Regions from separate parts of the Homo sapiens genome. Here region 2 is linked to region 1. The links are contacts of gene promoters, found by promoter capture Hi-C in human tissues and cell types (Jung and others, 2019). All regions are on one chromosome and are shown on one strand. The core of a region is centred on a gene start or on the middle of the fragment in contact, and the rest is flanking DNA. Distances in the headings are between cores, read along the strand shown.

Region 1 (3,382 bases), core at 434-2,933:
ATCTTGCACTGGCAATCAGGAAATCTGGATTCTATACCCAATTAGCTCACATTCTATTACATGTTGTTTTTTAAGTCATATCTATTCTCTTCATTCACTTATGAAGCTAGAGCTCCAAAGTTCTCTGACAAAGATAAGTGTTAAATGGAATCATATGAAACTGCTATTTTTGTAGGTTAGTTGAATTTTAAATACTGGCAATTTCACATGGGTCAACCTAAGTAGACCATGTAATTCCATAATGTGGCTATCTATAGTCTAGAAACTAGACCATAAAGGAATACAAAGAGTGTGTGCATGCACGCATACTCACACTCTTATCTTGAAATGGTTATCCCACATACCCGACAATTTTCATGTTAATGCTGTAACCTATGTGCAATTTTGTTTAACCTTCATGTTACTAATTCCCATTTGTTTTGGCCACCAAGTTTATCATAAGTTCTGGAAGAACACTACAACAAAGCAGGCCTGCAAAATCCAGCCTATCCCCAAAGTACTGTCCAGGTCTTTGCTAGATTATCTCTAAATTGCAAAATGCCTTTCACTGCATGGAGAGGAAAATAAATTCATAAGTAAACAAAAAGTACATTCTCTACCTTGTGGGACGCCGAAATCATGCACATTTAGTATAGCCCAGAAACAAATGCTTCCTACGACTCTGCAGGACCATGTCTAAGAAGGAATATCCTCAAATCCTGAAATATTTCAAACGACTACTTAAGAATGGAGTACATCGACCTCCTCCTACTGCAGAAATTAACTGTTCTATATTTGTATCTCCAAGGTACATTTTTCCTAAAAGAATATCAGCACCAAGGAGACTACACCCCTTACCAAAAAAAAAAAAAAAAAAAGAGGGAGAAGAATCTTTTGAGTCATTGTGCGAATCCCCACGTTGGGCTCCGCATCCTCTCAAGCCGTTCTCCTGTAAATAACCAGACACATCTACACCAATCCACGGTTCTTTCATGGTTCTAAGTTAGTCAGCAGTATTTACAGAGATCTTTCCCGTCACCTAAAAGAAAGGTGCTAACGAACAGCAGTTCCTGGGCGTGAATGCCCGGATCCCGGGATGCAGGCGCTTCTCCCGTCTGCCCTGCGAGCTGCCGGCCCGACAGCCCCATAGACCCCTAGCATTTCTCGAATCCAGGGGCCTCCGAGGTCACCCTGCCTGACACCCTTTCCGCCCCGATTTTCGTGACCGTGCAGCCAGCACTGCCTACTCTGACTGAACAGGGACGATGAACGCAGCTACGCCCCGCGGGTCCACCGATGATGACCGCAGTCACGAAGAGGCCAGACCGCCGCCCGCCTCTCAAGCCCACCCCGGGACCCCGGGTTACTCCGGCACTGATGCCGGCCGCCGCTCGGCCTGCCGGGCCTCAAGGACATTCCTTGCAGTCCCCGCGGGTCCGAGCTGCCACACCGACAAAGCGCAACCGCAGCCCCCTCCAGGTCCGCAGGAGCTGCCGGTAGCCACTTCCCAGGGCCGAGGGAAGCTCCAGAATTGCCACCAACACAGCCCAAACCCCGCTCCCACCCATCTCCGCCCCGCTCCCCGCCGCCCCTGCCCCTCTTCTCGGTCACCGCCCGCCTCACCTCCAGATCTCACTAGAGGCCACCGAACCCCGGCGCCGACGCTCAGCCTGGCTCCAGTTAACGCAGTCGCGGAGCGGAAGGAGCCCTCACCTTACGCACGCTCGGAGCTGGACGAGCCTTCGACCAATAAGAGAGGATCGTTCGATTGTCTAGCCAATCGCCTGGGGGCTGCTCGGCCTGACGGCGCTACGTCACGAACGGTCGCCTTAACAACCGCCCACAGCTCTCTGCAGGGCCAAGAACAGGCACCGCACCATCTCTCACCACGGCTCGGCCAACCAATAGCCGTTCGAGTCCCAGCACTAGGGCCTGCCTATTGGTCCTAGAGCTGTGGGGGCGCACGCATGGCAGCTGCCTAGGCGGAGGCGATAGGGGACCAGGCGGGTGGAGTGTCCCACAGCCTCAGTGCCTGACCCGTGCTCGTCCTGGCTGTGATAGTACAGTAGGAGGCAGTGATAGGAAGCAGAATCGGAGCGTGAGGGAAAACGCAGGGTCAGGTCGATGACTGAAAGCTCAGTTACTAGCGCGGGAGAGATGGAGGGAAGCGGAGGCGGCCATGAGAAAAAGAGGAATATAAAAAAAGGGAAGGTGGCGGCGACGGGCACCTCAAACCTGTAACTGGCCGGTAGCCGAAACCAGCGCTTTCCCGAGATTTACCCATTAGTGTAAATGGCTCCGGTCACCTGCGTCTCTCTCTCTTGTGTGCGACATCCATTGCATACTGGATTCTCTCTGAAATGTGCCTCTCCTGCGTCTTCTGTGCGTTCCTTCTGCTCTCCGCCTGGTGCAGGGCTTTATTATGTCTTACTTAAAACAGTGCAATAGCCTCTCCTAACTGGTCTTCCCAGTCTTACACGCATGCACTTCCCAATCTGTCCTGCAGAACTCCCACATGCAGTATGTGGCATACTACTTCCTATTATGCCATAGACCCAAATCAGCGTTTCTCATTGTCTACTGGATTAAAGAAAGAACCTGTCACCACTAATATGGCCCCACCACACATTTCTGACGTATCTCTACTTTCCTGTGCGAACCTTACAGTTCAGCCAGGAGTAACTGGCCCTTCTTCAGTCACACTCAGTACCTTTTTACCTCCCTGCTTATGTTCTCTTTGTTTACCTTGGATATGCCTACCCATTTTAACTGCTGAGATCCTAAATATCCCTTAAGGACTTTTTCATATGCCACCTCCTTTCCTAATTCCCTCAAACACATCATCACTCCCGACCTTGAAAACCCATAAAATTTCCGTAGTATTTTTTTATTTGTCTTACTATCGTATGTGGAAATTTATTAAGGACAGGAATTGTATTTCACTCAATTTTTAAAGCCCATATTTTGAAACACATTACGAAGAAAACACTAAACACTCCTTAGTTTTAATAAATGATTATAGATTCTTATAATCCTTATATAATAGGTATTATTCCCATTTTACAAAAAAGTAAAAATTAAAGTTTGTCAAGCAACTTGCTGTAGATCACATAGATAATGAGCAAAACTGGAATTTGAACCCAGATCTAATGCTTAGGCTGGTTCTACTGTTCCCCACTGCTTCAGTGTAAGACCTTCATTCATATCTCTTTACCAAATGTTGCCTTTGAAATGCTCATTATGTGAAGTACACACTGTGGTTGGCATGGGAGATATAGTGACAAACATGACAGACATAGTGCCTGCCTTTATGAACCTTGCACAGTAAAGAAAACGGGTGAACTACCCAAAGATTGCAGTGTTCTCTTAGCAGCCTTGTCAAAAAAAAAAAAAAAAAAGAGAG
Region 2 (3,382 bases), core at 277-2,776, 320 kb before region 1:
AGGTTTTAATCTTAAACAAATGGAATGATCAACAAGGGCTGTTCTGGACATAATTTTGGGAATGAACTGCCTGGAGCCCACATGGTAACTTAGACGAATTACAAAAAGGTACACTTTTCTCAAGATGGACAGAGCTCAAAGCCAGGGCATAGAGCTTTGCAAGCAGAATCCTCTGGATTTCATAGAGTGCACCACTTCAACATCTAAATATTTTTCCCTGAGCAAAGGATGGTGGTTCTCATTTGCTTTTCAAATGACCCATGAAGAATTTGCTCAGAAAACAATTAAAATTAATGGTCAGAAATGACCCAAGAAGAAGAGTTCCAATCTTAGGAACCCTTATGGATCCAGAAATATATCCCAAGTATTATCTTACATGGTTAGATATTTGCAACAAGTGCGATTCCCACCAATATAAATGATTTGGTTCTTAGTCTAGGCACTAAGACCCAGGGGAGCAGGAAAATTAGGGCTGAAAGTAATCAGCCTGTAATCAAAAGAGACAGTAATGAAATTAGGAAGAACTGCATTTTGCAGGCATTTAGCAAGCCTCTAATTGTATGCTGTCTACATTCTGTCTTGCAGAGCCATTTGAATCACTATAATTAGCCTGCTTTGAGAAGGCAGCATTCTGAGAGCCAGAGTTTCCAAGTTCAAAGGAAAATCTTCCTAAGGAATATATGCTGGAGTGAAAATCCAAACACTTCTACCCTTAGGGGTTGGGAGGTAGCGTGGATAGAAGGTTCTCTGAGAGCTTTTTGACACCTCAGGCCAAGAGGACAAGCAGAGAACAAGCTGCTGGGAAAGTCAAATTTATACCAAACTTTGATTCCTTATTTCCTAACCAGACCCTAACATGGTCCTAGAAACACTTTTCTTTGGCAAAAAAAAAAAAAAAAAAAAAAAAATTGTGGGAGCCAATAGAAAAGATATTTTTTATTCATTTATTAACTATGTATTGGGTGCCAACTATGTGCCAGACCTTGAAAAGAAAGGAGAAGAAGGGAAATCTGGGAAAGTCAAATCATGAGGCCCAGTAAACTGTGAGCTCTTGTTTTGAAAACAAAGTCAAATGGTAGCATTGACTGTATTTACTGGAATATCTAGTCCACTAAGCAGCAGGGACCCCAACATAAATCCCTGCCCAATGCTATAGATTTCGTACCCACAGAATGGCTTTGGGGGTATTAAGTATTCATGAAAAAGTAGAATAAAATACAAAACAACAGCATTAAAAAATACTAAGGCTAAATGTTAAACCAAATTAACCAGGCACAACTGGTGAAAGTGGTGGAATTCCACACAAGTGATAACATTCTGTGTTGTGTTTTCCTCCTTAAGCTTTTCTGTGTTCTAAATCGTCCACAGTGGGCCTGTGTTACTTTTTTTTTTTTTTTTTTTTTTTTTTTTTCAGACGGAGTTTCGCTCTTTCACCCAGACTGGAGTGCACTGGCACGGTCTCGGCTCACTGCAACCTCCGCCTTCCGGTTTCAAGTGATTCTTCTGCCTCAGCCCCCGCTGTAGCTGGGATTACAGTTGCGCATCACCATGCCCGGCTGATTTGTGTATTTTTAGTAGAGACAGGGTTTCACCATGTTGGTCAGGCCGGTCTCAAACTCCTGACCTCATGATCTGCCTGCCTCAGCCTCCCAAAGTGCTGAGATTACAGGTGTGAGCCACCGCGCCCAGCCAGTCTGTGTTACTTTTTTTATGATCAGAAAAAAAAAAACAAAAAAACCTAATTTTAGAAACTGACACACAGAGAAAAGTAAAATAACATATAACTACTTTAGATCCTACACATGTAAAATGGATGATTCTGAACTAGAGTAGGGTGGACTCAGGCTTGCACTGTGACTTAGGGAAGTGCTGGCTATTGAACTGTTGGGTAAAAATAAGGAAGGGAAAACTGCAAGTTTCGGAAGCAGTCATCTTTGCTGACAGTTGTAGCAAAGCACCAGATGACAAAGCAGCCACTACTTGGATTTGAAGCCAGCTCTGCCTCTTACTATGCGTGTGACCCAATGTCATCAGAATCTCTCCAATCTGCTCTTGAAAACTGGAGTGATTTTGTCCACCTCACTGAAATGTGAGGATTGAAGTAATATGGCCTGCGTGAGCACCTGACAGGACTGTACCCAGGGACCTCCTATATAACATTCAGTAAAGCTGGAACCTAACACAGCTCTCTGACAACCCTCCGGAGGCTTAGCCTGCATTACTGCACCACTTGAAAGAAACAAAATTGTCCTTCTTTAAAAACAGGTTTACACAATAGCCAAAAGGTGGACGCAACCCAAATGTCCATCGATGGATGAATGAATGAACAAAATGTGGTATAGACATACAATGAAATGTTATTTAGCTTTGAAAAGAAATGAAATTCTGACACATGCTACAACATAGATAAACCTTGAAGACGTTACGCTAAGTGAACTAAGCCAGTCACAAAAAGGCAAATACTATGTGATTCCACTTATATGAGGTACTTAGAGTGGTCAAATTCATAGAAACAGAAAGTAGAATGGTGGTTCCCAGGGGCTGGGAGAAGGAAGAAATGGCAAGTTATTGAATAAGTGTAAAGTTTCACTTTTGCAAGATGAAAGTTTTGGAGACCAATTGCATAACAATGTGAATATGCTTAACCATACTGAACTATATACATAAAAATGGTTAAGACAGTGTTTATGTGTGTGTATTTTACCACAAATTTTTTAATTTAAAAAAACAAGTTTAGACATATGTAAAGTCATTCATTGCAGCTATGTTTATAAGAGCAAAACCTTAGGAACAACTTAAATGTCAATCAAGTGAGGACTAGCTGAACAAGTTGTGATATGTCTGTGCCACGCTATACTATGCAGCTCTAAAAAAAAAAAGAATGAAGAAACTCTCCATGTAGTAATATCTCCACTTAATAATGCTAAAAAAGCTAAATGCAGAACAGTATACTAGTTATAGGTATGCCATCAGTGTCTAAAAAGGAAGGAGGAAGGGAATAAGAGTAAAATGTGTTTATGTTTGCTTGCATATGCATAAAAAACTCTGGAAGGAACAGAAATAATTTATAATAATGGATATATATAAGCGGGGTAGTATGGTAACCAGACAAGTAGGAACAGGGGTGGGTGGGAAATTTTTACTGTTAAACCCTTACTAATTATATTCTTTTATTTCTGGACCATACGAATCTATAATCTTTTCAGAATTTGAATTTAAAAACACATATTTTTTCTTCAGAGTAAAAATTTTTACTGACATAGCTCAACCAAAATTGGGGTATTTTACTGACTATGAAGATGCATGGTTTCTCCAGTTTGTGCCCATTTCACAAAGGATATTCCAATAACGCTGCTCAAGGCTGACATCCAACAGGAAGGTC

What was found. The method cuts DNA at HindIII sites, captures the fragments that hold promoters and counts their contacts. A contact is called where the count stands out against the background at its distance.
Region 2: a contact is called between a fragment that was not itself captured here and the fragment with the promoter of HMGCR in region 1, in 1 of the 25 tissues and cell types used here (dorsolateral prefrontal cortex).

Annotation. Positions count from the first base shown.
Region 1 is chr5:75,335,521-75,338,902 of GRCh38, reverse strand. HMGCR (3-hydroxy-3-methylglutaryl-CoA reductase) reads right to left here and starts at 1,683. Exons shown (of 20, transcript NM_000859.3): 1 at 1,603-1,683. RefSeq lists enhancers at 653-1,211, 1,212-1,772 and a silencer at 1,452-1,571. The HindIII fragment of the contact is 13,606 bases long and covers 1-3,382 here.
Region 2 is chr5:75,659,426-75,662,807 of GRCh38, reverse strand. All of the region lies in intron 10 of ANKDD1B (ankyrin repeat and death domain containing 1B), which reads right to left. Among named protein-coding and RNA genes, the nearest start is that of ANKDD1B, 50 kb to the right of the region's middle. The HindIII fragment of the contact is 4,599 bases long and covers 1-3,382 here.